Linked DNA regions of Homo sapiens: all the other regions are linked to region 1. Evidence: promoter capture Hi-C in human tissues and cell types (Jung and others, 2019). All regions are on one chromosome and are shown on one strand. Each heading gives the region's core, a stretch centred on a gene start or on the middle of the fragment in contact. The rest is flanking DNA. Distances are from core to core; before and after follow the strand shown.

Region 1 (2,700 bases), core at 146-2,645:
TCAGTATGTGTATGGCATACTTGGGGTCTCACTTCCCTCTCAGCCCTTGCAAATGCTGGAACACCTTTTCAGCCTTGGAGGACCCCCTCAGATGTTCCCTCCTAGTCAGAACTCCTCACTCTTTCACTGGGAGCATGGTGATCCTCCCTCTACAGGGCACTTACCACATGGCTGAACCTAAAGCCTGTCTGCCTCGCCTGCTGGATTTTGCTTCCCCACAGCCTTGCATGGCTCTAGTATAGCACAGAATGAACAGTGCTTGCATGTATAAAGGAAGGAATGAATAAGTGAATGGAGGGATGGGTGGATGGATAAATAGGAGGGTGGATGACGGAGTCCAGGCAGAGCCAGGGGATAGAAGAGGAAGTCACCTCGCCAGGGAGGCATGGGCTTCCCCTGCTGCCTCCTCTGGGACAGCCTCCCTTCCCAGGACTCCCATTCCTCGTATCGCTGGGCTCCCTTCAGGATAGACACAGAGAGTTCTTCTGGGTCCTCCTTCTTCCTTTAGCTCTAGGCCTTACATTTTCCAGAGTCAGATGAGGGATGAGTAGTTAAAATTGATGAGCTCCCACTACATGTCAGACACTGCACTAGCTATTTCTACAGATGCCATATTGTTTAATGAAAATGACACCATAGCCGGCACGGTGGCTCACTCCTGTCATCCCAGCACTTTGGGAGGCTGAGGCGGGTGATCACCTGAGATCAGGAGTTTGAGACCAGCCTGGCCAACATGGTGAAACCCCATCTCTACTAAAAATACAAAAATTAGCTGGACATGGTGGTGCACACCCGTAATCCCAGCTACTCGGGAGGCCGATGCAGGAGAATCACTTGAGCCCGGGAGGTGGAGGTTGCAGTGAGCCGAGATCACACCACTGGACTCCAGCCTGGGTGTCAGTGGAAGACACAGTCTAGAAAAAAAAAAAAGAAAACAGGTGTAGAGAAGCTGAGTGGATTGCCCAAGGTCACACAGCTTACGTCCAGCAAGAAGGGGGATCTCAACTCAAAATCTGCTCAGGCAGGTAGGGCTGGGTATGCTGTAGATCGGCTGCCTTGGAGGGAGGCAGAGGCAGTGAGGGTGGGCAGTGGGCACGGCCCTGCTGTGAACACAGGAGCTCTGAGTTCCAGCCCTGGCTTGGCCTCTGTTTTCCTGGGACACCCTGGATGAGCCCCTTCCCTCTCGGCTTCAGTGTCCCTGGGTGACCTTGCTGCCCTTGGAGAGCCATTCCAGGCAAATGGTGCAGGATGTGGTGGATGTGGATGGCTCCTGGCTCTCACTGCGGGATGTTCCCTCACTCTCCCTGCCAGCTGGGGGTCAAAGGGCAGTGCCACCCATGGGGTAATGTTTAACCAGGCACAACACCCCCTCTATAGGGAATAACCTATAGACCAGTCCTACCCCAGCTGGCCAAGAGTCCGCAGGATGCAGTGGACGAAGGTGTTGGGGCTGGGGCTGGGGGCTGCTGCCCTCTTGGGGCTGGGGATCATCCTCGGCCACTTTGCCATCCCCAAAAAAGCCAACTCACTGGCCCCCCAGGACCTGGACCTGGAGATCCTGGAGACCGTCATGGGGCAGCTGGATGCCCACAGGATCCGGGAGAACCTCAGGTGAGAAGTGGGGCCATCTGCTCCTCCGTTTGCCAGAGGCCCCCTCCCTGATGCTGGCCCTGCCCCTCCCTCTGCCCACCCTGCAGAGAACTCTCCAGGGAGCCACACCTGGCCTCCAGCCCTCGGGATGAGGACCTGGTGCAGCTGCTGCTGCAGCGCTGGAAGGACCCAGAGTCAGGCCTGGACTCGGCCGAGGCCTCCACGTACGAAGTGCTGCTGTCCTTCCCTAGCCAGGAGCAGCCCAACGTCGTGGACATCGGTGAGGTCCTGCCCAGTCTTGGGAATGCCCGGGGGTGGGGAGCTGCTGGGCCCAGCCATGATACTGCCACCCCTCCAACAGTGGGCCCCACTGGGGGCATCATCCACTCCTGCCACCGGACTGAGGAGAACGTGACCGGGGAGCAAGGGGGGCCAGATGTGGTACAACCCTATGCTGCCTATGCTCCTTCTGGAACCCCACAGGTGGGCCCAGAACCCCCCCTACTGCTCTGGCCCAGCTCCCTTGGTTCCACCCAGGGTTCTCCCCACCCTGACCCAGGGAACGTGCCTCAACTGGGGCACAGCGCGCCCTCCGGAATTTACTCACCGGGACACTCCATCGCTGCTCCTTTCCTCCATCAGTCATTCAACAAACACTAGTGGCTCTGCTCAAGGCCAGGTCTGTTACAGGGCACCCAGACATGGAGGAAATGAGGGGTGACTGTTCTTGGGGAGCTTACAAGCTCTGGGTGAGGTGGGGGAACAGAATCTAAATTCTCCCTCCTGCCATGCAAACTTCCACCCCCCTTCCCCACCCACACTTCGCTGGGCCCAGCTCTAAGGATCACCCCCTCTTGGGACTAGGGCCTCCTCGTCTATGCCAACCGGGGCGCGGAAGAAGACTTTAAGGAGCTACAGACTCAGGGCATCAAACTTGAAGGCACCATTGCCCTGACTCGATATGGGGGTGTAGGGCGTGGGGCCAAGGTGAGTGGCAGTCCCCCAGTGCAGGAGGCCTCGGTGAGGAAGGGGCTGGGCAGTGGACTGGAGGAAGTGAGGGGAAGGGGAAGGAGAAGAGGCAGTGTTGAGTGGGGAACCAAGCCCCAGGGT
Region 2 (2,700 bases), core at 148-2,647, 620 kb after region 1:
TCCAGCCTGGGTGACACAGTGAGACTCCCTCTCAAAAAAAAAAAAAAAAAAAAAAAGAAGAGGCTGGGTGTGGTGGCTCATGACTGTAATCCCAGCACTTTGGGAGGCCCAGGCAGGCAGATCACTTGAGGCCAGGAGTTCTAGACCAGCCTGGCCAACATGGTGAACCCCATCTCTACTAAAAATACAAAAATTAGCCGGGTGTGGTGGCGGGCACCTGTAATCCCAGCTACTCGGGAGAGTGAGGCAGGAGAATTGCTTGAACCCAGGAGGCAGAGGTTGCAGTGAGCCGAGATCGCACCACTGCACTCCAGCCTGGGCAAGAGAGCGAGGCTCCGTCTCAAAGAAAAAAAAAAAGAAAGAAAGAAAAAAGAAAAAAAGAAAACCACAAAGGAACTCCCATGTTGAGAAATTGCCCCTTCATAGCCTGTGGGTGTCCCTGGCCTCCCGCCTCTCGCTGTCTCCTCTCTCCTCTCTTTCCTCTCTTCTCTTTCCCATCCTTCTAACTTTATATCACAAAAGGGCAAAAACAGGGCTCATCTCTAAGGGCAGGGGAGACTGAGAAATGGACCCTTTTGGGGCAGCATCCCCTCGGGAGGCAGGAGGAAGGGGAAGGTCCACCCGGCAACACTCACAGGCTAGAGAATTTTGCTCTTTGACAAAAACAGCTCTGCTTGCTCCACAGTGGCCGGGGGCTGAAGGTCCTCACCTGGCATTTGTGTTGCCTTCTGTCAATCACCCCAGGGCCAGGGTGCAGCATTTAGGATGCTCTCAAGAATGCGGAAAAAATGTAACCAAAAAGTCCAGAGGTGAGGCATGATCAGGCATGTCATCCGCAGCCATGCTCTTTCTGTCTCTCTGCACTGTCCTCCTGCCGTCAGCCCTCTGTGGTTGTGCGGTGGCCACCAGCAGCAGCTGGCTGCCTGGCTCCTTTATCACAATTAGTGGGAGAGGGTCAGTGGTGTGTAGGTAAGCCAGCTCTCTGGGGTGGGGACGGGTGTGAGGAAAAGCTCTAATTTATAGCATGTGCCATTTTCTGTGGTATAAACACTCCCCATGGTTGATTTTTTTTTTTTGACTGGGTATTGCTCTGTTGCCCAGGCTAGAATGCAGTGGCACAATCTCAGCTCACTGCAACCTCCCCTCCCCATTTCCAGTGATTCTCCTGTCTCAGCCTCCCAAGTAGCTGGGATTACAGGCACCTGCCACCACATCCGGCTAATTTTTGTATTTTCAGTAGAGACAGAGTTTCACCATGTTGGCCAGGCTGGTCTCAAACTCCTGACCTCAGGTGATCTGCCAGCCTTAGCCTCCCAGCATGCTGGGATTATGGGTGTGAGCCACCGCGCACGGCCACCCCATGGCTGATTTCAAGCCACTAACCTGACTACACAGTTGGGAGGAGAGGCACACACTAGATGCCCACACAGCTCTGGCACAGAAACCCCATGGGACAGAGGACAGGATCACATGGATTGTTTAGACCCATCAGGGCCCATCCCTGGAGGCTGAGTCAATTCCCCCCAAACTATTTTAGCAAGGGCAGGGGGAGGGAGGAGAGGGTGTCAGGAGAGGCAGCAGTGAGGGTCGCAACCCGGCCCTCTCATCTTCCTTGCATTCCCTTCGCAACATTCCTGCCCAGACAGCCTCTTGCAGTTTCCAGCAACTACCCTAACACTGAGCCCAAAGAGCGACCCCACTCAGGGCAGTGGGCAGTGGCCGATTCCTGGCTTGGAGACAATGAACCATGAGGCTGACAGCCAAGGAGACCTCAGGGATAACCGGAATAGCAAAAGCCAGCATCCCATAGAAGGCCCCAGGAACCCCCTCCAGGGCCTTTTTCATGCCTGTGTGGTGGGCAGCCTGCCTGCCTGACAATAGCCACAGCCATTGCCTGATGCAGTCCCAGCCTGGCCACCCCCAGGCAAACAGGGGAGAGCCGGGGACACTCACTCTGCACCAGCTTGGGGTCTCTTGGTCCACTTCTAGAACCCACTGAGGGGGGAAGATGGTGCAAGTCTGGAGAGAACAGCCCTGCATCCCTGAGTACCTCTGTCCTAGTTCACAACCATGTTGTCAGATGACTCATTTTTCTTATAAGCTAAGTCCAGAGCTTTTGGAAGCCAGACAGAGAGCTTTGTAAGAGGTGGACACACCTGCCCGAAGTTGGAGTTTCCTGCACCTGCACCGAGGAGAGGATGGTGGATCTGAAAGGTGCCCCCTCCGCTGCCCGCTTCCTGGCCCAGAGCCATGTGGTAGGCTCTCAGTGATGCTTCCCACATCATCTGTGCAGAAAACCTGTTTCTCTTTGCTGCCAGCAAAGCTAATTGCTGAGTTAATTGGCAATGTGTTGTTAGGTGAAAAAGAGCAAGTTATAAAACTGTATTTATAGTTTGACATTATTCTCAAAGAAAAATATGTATGTATGTTCATGTGTGTTCTGCATGTGTGTGCATGCATGTGTTCATGTGTATATGTGCATGTGTGTGACGGAGGAGTGTCTCTCTGTGCGAATATAAATGGACATGGAAAACAAGAATAGAGGCCAGGCGCGGTGGCTCACACCTGTAATCCCAGCACTTTGGGAGGCCGAGGTGGGTGGATCACCTGAGGTCAGGAGTTCGAGATCAGCCTGGCCAACATGGTGAAACCCTGTCTCTACTAAAAATACAAAAATTAGCCGGATGTGGTGGCGGGTGC
Region 3 (2,700 bases), core at 151-2,650, 700 kb before region 1:
TCTTCCAGAAGATATAAGCAGAGAAAACACTTCCTAATTCATTCTATGAGGTCAGCATCTAATACTAAAACCAGATAAAGACATTACCAGAACAACTCTACAGATCCATATCTCTCATAACCATAGGTACAGGAATCCTCAACAAAATATTAGCAAATCAAATCCAATGATACATAAAGATAATTATATGCCATGACCAAATGGGGATTTATCCCAGGTATGCAATCAGTTAATGTAATCCATCACGTCTAAAAGAGAAATATCAAATGATAATTCAATACACGCAGAAAAAGCATTTGAAAAAATTCAGCACCCATTTGTGATTTAAAAAAACTCTCAGTAAACTAGGAATAAAGGGGAACTTCCTTAACTTGATTTTTAAAAGGTACAAAAACCGTATAGCTAATATTTTACTTAACAGTGAGAAACTAGAAGCTTTCCTGCTAAGATCAGAAAAAAGGAAAGAAAGTCCTCTCTCCCCACTCCTTTCAATATTACGCTGGAAGTCCTAGCTAATGCTAAGACAAGAAAAAGAAATAGAAGTATACAGATTGGGAAGGAAGAAAGGTGGTAAAGATGGCATGATTGTCTATGTAGAAAATCTGGAAAAATCAGCAACAACAAACCCTTGGGACTAATGAGCAGTTATAGCAACATTGCAGCATGCAAGATTAATATAAAATTATCAATTGCTTTCCTATATACCATCAATGAACAAGTGGAATCTGAAATTAAAAACACAGGCTGGATAGCTGCAAATAAAATAAAATACTTAGGAATTAACCAAAGAAATGAAAGATCTCTACAATGAAAACTATAAAACATTCATGCAAGAAACTGAAGTGAGGCTGGGAATGGTGGCTGAAGCCTGTAATCCCAGCACTTTGGGGGGCCAAGGTAGGTGGATCTCTTGAGTCCAGGAGTTCGAGACCAGCCTGGGCAACGTGGTGAAACTTCAACTCTACAAAAAACACAAAAAAGAAAAACTAGCTGGGCATGGTGGTTCGCACCTGCAGGCCCAACTACTCAGGAGGCTGAGGCAGGAGGATCACTTGAGCCTGAGAAATTAAGGCTTTGGCAAGCCATGATCACACCACTGCACTCTGGCCTGGGTGACAGAGTGAGACCCTATTTCAAAAAAGAAAAGAAAAGAAATTGAAGAGGACACAAAAAATGGAAAGATATTTCATGTTCATGGATAGGAAGAATCAACATTGTTAAAATGTCCAATAGATTTAATGCAATTCCTGTCAAAATACCAATGACATTCTTCACAGAAATAGAAAAAAATCCTAAAAATCCTAAAATATGTATGGAATCACAAAAGACCCAGAATAGCCAAAGCTATCCTAAGCAAAAAGGACAGAACTAGAGGAATCACATTATCTGACTTCAAATTATACTACAGAGCTATAGTAACCAAACGGCATGGCACTGGCATAAAAACAGATACATAAACCAGTGGAACAGAATCAAAAACCTAGAAATAAATTCATACATCTACAGTGAACTCGTTTTTGACAAAGTTTCCAAGAATATATATTGAGGAAAGGACAGTCTCTTCAATAAGTGGTGCTGGGAAAACTGGATATCCATATGCATAAGAATGAAACTAGACCCCTATCTCTTGCCAAAAAAATCAAATCAAAATGAATTAAAAACATTTAAGACTGAAAATTATGAAACTACCAAAAGAAAACACTGGGGAAACTCTCCAGGACATCAAAGTGGGCAAATACTTCTTGAGCAATACCCCACAGGTATAGGCAACCAAAGCAAAAATGTATAAATGGAATTACGTCAAGTTAAACAGCTACTGCACAACAAAAGAAACAATCAACAAAGTGAAGGGACAACCCATAGAATGGGAGAAAATATTTGCAAACTTCCCATCTGTATTAGTCAGTGTTCTTTCTCTCTCTATATATAAAGGGGAGTTTATTACATGATCACAAGGTCCCACAATAGGCTTTCTGCAAGCTGAGAAGCAAGGAGAGCCAGTCTGAGTCCCAGAACTGAAGAACTTGGAGTCCGATGTGCGAGGGCAAGAAGCATCCAGCACAGGAAAAAGATGAAGGCTGGGAGGCGAAGGCTGTCTCTCCTTTTCACGTTTTTCTGCCTGCTTTATATTCAATGGCAGCTGATTAGATTGTGCCCACCAGATTAAGGGTGGATCTGCTTTCCCCAGCCCACTGACTCAAATGTTAATCTCTTTTGGCAGCACCCTCAGAGACACACCCAGGATCAATATTTTGTATCCTTCAATCAAGCTGACACTCGATATTAACCATCACACCATCTGACAGAATACATAAGGAGTTCAAACCACTCTCTAGAAAAGAAATCTAATAATCTGATTAAAAGTGGGCCAGAGATCTGAATAGATATTTCTCAAAAAAAGACAAACAAATGGCAAACAGGCATATGAAAAGGTGCTCTACATAGTTGATCATCAGAGAAAAGCAAATCAAAACTACAATGAGATATTACCTTACCCCAGTTAAAATGGCTTTTATTCAAAAGACAGGTAATAACACATGCTGGCGAGGATGTGGAGAAAAGGCAACCCTTGTACACTGTTGGTGGGAAGGTAAATTAGTGCAACCACTGTGGAAAACATTGTGGAGGTCCCTCAAAAAACTAAAAACAGAGCTACCATATGATCCAGCAATCCCACTTCTAGATATATACCCGCAGAAA
Region 4 (2,700 bases), core at 188-2,687, 890 kb after region 1:
ATTACTTTTGAGATAGGGTCTCACTGTGTCGTCCAGGCTGTAGTGCAGTGGTGCCATCATGGCTCTCTGTAGCCTTGAACCCTTGGGCTCAAGTGTTTGCCTGCCTCAGCCTCTGGAGTAGCTGGGACTAGAGGTGAGTGTCTACCACCATACCAGGGTAATTTTTTTGTGTGGGGGCGGGTAGAGATGAGGGGGTCTCACTATATTGCCCAGGCTGGTCTTGAACTCCTGGCCTCTAATAATCCTCTTGCCTCAGCCTCCCAAAGTGCTGGGATTACAGGTGTGAGCACTTATTCATTATTCATTATTACATTCATTATATTATTATAATGGCCCGGCCTGTATTCATTATATTTATCATAAAGTAATATTAATAGTACATAAAAATATATAAAAGTACTTAAAAATCCATCCTCGTGTTTTTTGTTTTGTTTTCTTTGAGACAGAGTCTCGTTCTGTCACCCAGGCTGGAGTGCAATGGCACGATCTCGGCTCACCGCAACCTCCGCCTTCCGGGTTCAAGTGATTCTCCTGCCTCAGCCTCCCGAGTAGCTGTAATTAACAGGCATGCACCACCACGCCTGCATAATTTTTGTATTTTTAGTAGAGACGGGGTTTCGCCATGTTGGCCAGGCAGGCCTCGAACTCCTGACCTCGTGATCCACCCAACTCGGCCTACCAAAGTGCTGGGATTACAGGCGTGAGCCACCGCGCCCGGCCGGTTTTTGTTTAAAAAAGAAAAGAAAAAAAAAAAAAAACACACAGACACACACAAAAACATCACCCCAATCCTTCCACCCTTGAACGCCACTTGAAGCCTAAGTTTCCTGCCTCCAAATTCCACTATTTCCACCCTCGACTCTCCTCCCCAGCTGTCCTAGATTCTGCTCCAGCTGAGCCTTGGCCCCGGGGCTGTTAGAAGGCAGAGGCTCTGGGGAGAAGTCCCCAAACCGGATTTACCCGTTCGTCGCACCTGTCCCTAGGAGGGCAGGCTGGGGTGTGGAGGCGGTGCCCTGCTGACCCGCGGGGAGAGAAGCCCGGGTCTCCCAGGCTGCAAAACGCTCGGCACTGCGGAAGCCGCGCCAGGCTCTCCCAGCTCGATACGCAGCGGCCGGCGCGCCTGCTCCGCCGCGGGGCCGAGCGGCAGAGGGGCCCGGGGCTGCGTGGAAGGCCCGGGGGCTTCAGCCCGTGCCGGGGAAGCCGACGCTCAGCCAACCAGAAAGTTAGAGGCGGCCGAGGTCTCGCGGAGGGGAGGCGCCTGGCGGCCACGGGAGAAGTCGAAGGGCTCAGGCGGGGCTCCATCCGCGACACTGGGAGCCCGGGCGGGCGCGCACGTGTGTATACGAGTGCGTGGGCCCATCCGGCGGCCCGGACTACAAGTTCCAGGGTGCCCAGCGGCGCTCCCGGGTTTTCTGGCCGCGCCTCCCGCTGGCTCCGAGCAGGTCGCCGCTGGCTGGCAGTCGCCACCCGGTCCCAGAGTAAATAAGGGAGAGACACTCCCGAGCGCCGTAAATAGAGTCCAAGTGGGCGGAGAGCCGTCCCGCGCCGCCCGCTCATGTCTCTACAGAGCCGACTGTCCGGCCGCCTGGCACAGCTGCGCGCGGCGGGGCAGCTGCTCGTCCCCCCGCGCCCCCGGCCCGGACACTTGGCGGGTGCCACGAGGACCCGCAGCAGCACGTGCGGTCCCCCGGCGTTCCTGGGCGTGTTCGGCCGCCGTGCGCGGACCTCGGCGGGAGTTGGGGCGTGGGGGGCGGCGGCGGTGGGGCGGACAGCCGGGGTGCGCACTTGGGCCCCCCTGGCCATGGCGGCGAAGGTGGACCTGAGCACCTCCACCGACTGGAAGGAGGCGAAATGTAAGTGTAAGCACGAGGGGGCGCGAGGGAGAGGGCGGCCTCACGTGGAGCTTCCCGGCTGGGCGGCCCCCAACGAGCGAGCAGCCCCTTCCACCCGAGAGACCTGGGGAAGTTGAGGCCCCATCTGCCCTGGAACGGACCCCTCCTCCCCATTGACAGCCCCCCCCGCCCCCGCGCGTGTTCCCAGCCCCACAGAACAATTCACTCCAGACCAGGTCCAAGTGTCCACGCAGGGGGCAGCGTGAGGAAGGCGGCCTTCCTTACCCCATTGGAATGGGTCACAGGGCACCCCAGAGATTGTGCAGGACCTACCAACTTCCTTCCCTGTGCAGGAGGGAAACTGAGGCCGAGTGCCACAGCTGGCTTCCCCAAGGTCACTCGGAGCTGGTGGCAAAGTGGAGGTTATGATCCCGGACTCTCCAAACTTTGCACAGTGTGGTTCTTAAGTGTTCGGGAATGGGGCTGAGGGAACAGCTCCGGGGCTGGCGTCCCACCTGGTGGGGCACGTAACCTCACAGAGTGACCTTCCTGGGCTGGCCTGTCCTGCCTCCACCCCACCCCAAGCCCGCACTCTGATGCCTTCCTGGGCACGTGGTCTGGCGCCCTTTTCCCCTTCTCGCTGGCCTCTGGCCACTTGTGAGCAGTTTGCTCATGCCAGGAACAGAGGTTAGAGGAGCAGGGCAGAGGTGGGGTCTTGTCCCTGTGACAACTGATGACACCCTTCAAGAATCACACCACTTCCTCTTGCTCCTGGAGGGGGCATGAGTCTGGGGCCTGGGGAGAGAGAGAACCCAAGCTGCCGCTACTGAGCCCCAAATAGCCCTGCCGGGCACCCAGCTGCCCCTGC
Region 5 (2,700 bases), core at 180-2,679, 780 kb before region 1:
AGCCTCTGCTCAATCCCTAACATCCTGCCCTCCTCCCCGCCCTCACCTCCCACCCCCTACCCACCTACCCCCATCAAGACAGCCTGAGTTGGTCTTGGGGAGGGTAAGAGTGACAGTGACGGGTCCCTTTCCATCTGTAAGGACAAAGGCAAAACCCTGCCTCCCTTGGCATCCTCATCAGTCCGCACACAGGTGCCACAGAGGCTCCCCACTCCCTTGCTCAAGTCTCCTTTCTCTCACTTGCGCAGACACACACATACACACAGAGACACATGGGCACATACACACACACAGACACACGAGACAAACACAGACACACGCACACACAGACACACATAGAAACACACACAGATACACAGACACACACAAACACACAGGCACAGAGAAACACACACACAGACACACACAACGACATACACAGATCATACACAGGCACACAGACACACACAGATGCACACACAGACACACTGACATAGACACACACAGATATACAAAGACACACGGATACAGACACACACAGACACATGCAAACACACACACAGACCCAGAAATACACAGACACACACACACAGACACACGCAGACCATACACACACACAGAGACACACACACACAGACATAAAGATGCACGCAGACCATACATAGACACAGAGACAGACACACACTCAGACACAAAGAGACACAGACCTGCGCAGACACACACAGGCACATGCGTGCACACACAGATACACACAGAGACACACACAGATGCATACATGCACACATGCAGACCATACACACAGACAGACACAGACACAAAGACACACGCAGACCATACACAGACACAGACACACAGACACACACACACAGACATGCACAGACACACACAGAGACAGACACAGACATGCACGCACAAACACCCACATGGACGCATACGTGCACACACACAGACACACACAGGCCATACACACACACACAGAGACACGGAGACACACAGACACACACACAGATACACAGAGACACACAAAGACACAGACACACACTGAGACACACACAGACACACAGACACACAGAGACACAAATACAGACATACACAGATACACACACACACAGACATATGCAGGCACATCGACATACACACAGACACACAGAGAAACAGACACATGCAGACTATACACACACAGACACACACAGAAACACACAGAGGCAGACCACACACACACAGACACACACACACCACCGCATGATTGGGCATCACGGGCTTTCATGGAGTGAGGGGAGGCTGGGGTGGGGGTCTTCATCCTTTCTCTACCTTGCCCTCCTTCCCAACCTCCGCATACGTCTCCATCGCTCTCCTGGGCTTCAGCGTCCGGCCACTGCCCGCGTGCTCCCGCAGGTCGTCCCCGTAACTCGCCCGAGGAACTGACCGAGTGAGGATGCTCTCAGCTGACGGGGACGCTCTCCCCCGCCCGGCCAAGGAGTCGCCTGGAGTCGGGGGCGGTTCCCACCGCGTTTCCCTCAGCCACGCCTTTCGATTGGGTAGCGGGGCACCGCGCGTGACGCCATTGGCTGCATTGTCTGTCGTTCCTGTCCCAGGCCCCAGCTTTTAAGGGACACGCGGCACGGAGAGTGGGCCGGTGATAGGCGACAGTGTGGGAGCTGGGGTCAGAGTTCATAGGGTCGCAGAGGCCGCGTGCCGCGTCTCCCTCCAGTCCCCGGGGGACTGACCCCCACAACAACCCCGTGCCGCCGTTCCGGGCCCCTCCTTCCAACGGCCACGTGCGGCCTGCGCGTGCGCACTCGCCCAGTTTGGCGCCCACCAGGCAGTGGGGAAGGGGAAGGGGAAGGGGAAGAGGGTGAGGGTGGCAGGGTGGGGACAGGGAATGGGAAGCAGTGGTGGGGATGTGGGTGGTGGACCAGGGGCGAGGGCAGGGGACAATGTCTGTGGAGAAGGGGGGTCTGTTTAGGTTTCCGCTCTTGGACGGGAGGGAGCGGCGGGGTAAGCAGCCTAGGAGGACTAGGGAGCTCCACAAGTCCCGCGGCCAGGGCGCCCCAAGCGAGGCCGGGGTCCGCGAACGGTCGCCACTGGAGCGGGGCTGCAAGGGGGTGCCGATGCTGCGAGAGAAAACCTGGGGACCTTGGAACGGGCTCATGGTAATTGGGAAGAGAGTGGAGCTCCTGACTAGAAACACTCGAAAGCCGAAGCTGGAGTCTGAGTACTGGAGACTGGAAGATGTGGAAAAGACGGTCTTGAAAGGGAAGTCAGGCCCGAGTCAGGAAAGGATGGATGTGAAGCTGCTATACCGTGGAGCAAGTGCATCACAAGCTTCAGCAGATTTGGGGAAAGACAGCCCAAGGGGTATTTGGGGAAAGCAAGAGGTCAAACACGAAATAAAGGCTAAATCTAAGAGTGCAGGGATGACAGCAGGGCCTATGAAGGGGTCTGGGTTTGAAGAGAGGTTGAGGTCTGCTGGGGAGAAGGTAGGGACCAGTGGAGAGGACTTGAGATCCAATGGATATAAACTGGGACAGGATGAGAAGGGGTTGAGGTCTAGTGTAGACAAGATGAGATCAAGTGTAGAGAAGCTGAGGTCTACTAGTGAGAAGCTGGTGTGCAGGGGAGAGAAGCAGGGGTCCAGTGGAGTGAAGCTGAGGTCCAGTGGCAGAAAGCTGAGATCAAGTGGAGAGAATTTGAGATCAAGTAGAGAGAAGCTGAGATGGA

The links. Contacts are between HindIII fragments. The study calls those that stand out against the background at their distance.
Region 2: a contact is called between a fragment that was not itself captured here and the fragment with the promoter of NAALADL1 in region 1, in 1 of the 25 tissues and cell types used here (H1 embryonic stem cells).
Region 3: a contact is called between a fragment that was not itself captured here and the fragment with the promoter of NAALADL1 in region 1, in 1 of the 25 tissues and cell types used here (spleen).
Region 4: a contact is called between the fragment with the promoter of MACROD1 here and the fragment with the promoter of NAALADL1 in region 1, in 2 of the 25 tissues and cell types used here (bladder and heart left ventricle).
Region 5: a contact is called between the fragment with the promoter of SNX32 here and the fragment with the promoter of NAALADL1 in region 1, in 4 of the 25 tissues and cell types used here (adrenal gland, heart left ventricle, heart right ventricle and 1 more).

The regions. Positions count from the first base shown.
Region 1 is chr11:65,057,248-65,059,947 of GRCh38, reverse strand. NAALADL1 (N-acetylated alpha-linked acidic dipeptidase like 1) reads left to right here and starts at 1,395. Exons shown (of 18, transcript NM_005468.3): 1 at 1,395-1,611; 2 at 1,698-1,870; 3 at 1,952-2,073; 4 at 2,455-2,577. The coding sequence starts at 1,427. The HindIII fragment of the contact is 22,908 bases long and covers 1-2,700 here.
Region 2 is chr11:64,435,684-64,438,383 of GRCh38, reverse strand. No RefSeq gene overlaps it. Among named protein-coding and RNA genes, the nearest start is that of LINC02724, 12 kb to the left of the region's middle. The HindIII fragment of the contact is 5,095 bases long and covers 1-2,700 here.
Region 3 is chr11:65,752,876-65,755,575 of GRCh38, reverse strand. No RefSeq gene overlaps it. Among named protein-coding and RNA genes, the nearest start is that of AP5B1, 27 kb to the left of the region's middle. The HindIII fragment of the contact is 8,105 bases long and covers 1-2,700 here.
Region 4 is chr11:64,164,850-64,167,549 of GRCh38, reverse strand. It overlaps MACROD1 (mono-ADP ribosylhydrolase 1), which reads left to right and starts at 1,437. Exons shown (of 11, transcript NM_014067.4): 1 at 1,437-1,853. The coding sequence starts at 1,556. LOC105369339 (a long non-coding RNA gene) reads right to left here and starts at 1,312. Exons shown (of 3, transcript XR_950187.3): 1 at 961-1,312. RefSeq lists silencers at 1,051-1,310, 1,571-1,650, 1,781-1,880 and an enhancer at 1,418-1,918. The HindIII fragment of the contact is 20,905 bases long and covers 1-2,700 here.
Region 5 is chr11:65,832,692-65,835,391 of GRCh38, reverse strand. SNX32 (sorting nexin 32) reads right to left here and starts at 1,429. Exons shown (of 13, transcript NM_152760.3): 1 at 1,291-1,429. The coding sequence starts at 1,326. LOC124902693 reads left to right here and starts at 1,593. Exons shown (of 7, transcript XM_047427980.1): 1 at 1,593-2,700. The coding sequence starts at 1,881. RefSeq lists an enhancer at 1,348-1,437 and silencers at 1,362-1,574, 1,748-1,877. The HindIII fragment of the contact is 13,089 bases long and covers 1-2,700 here.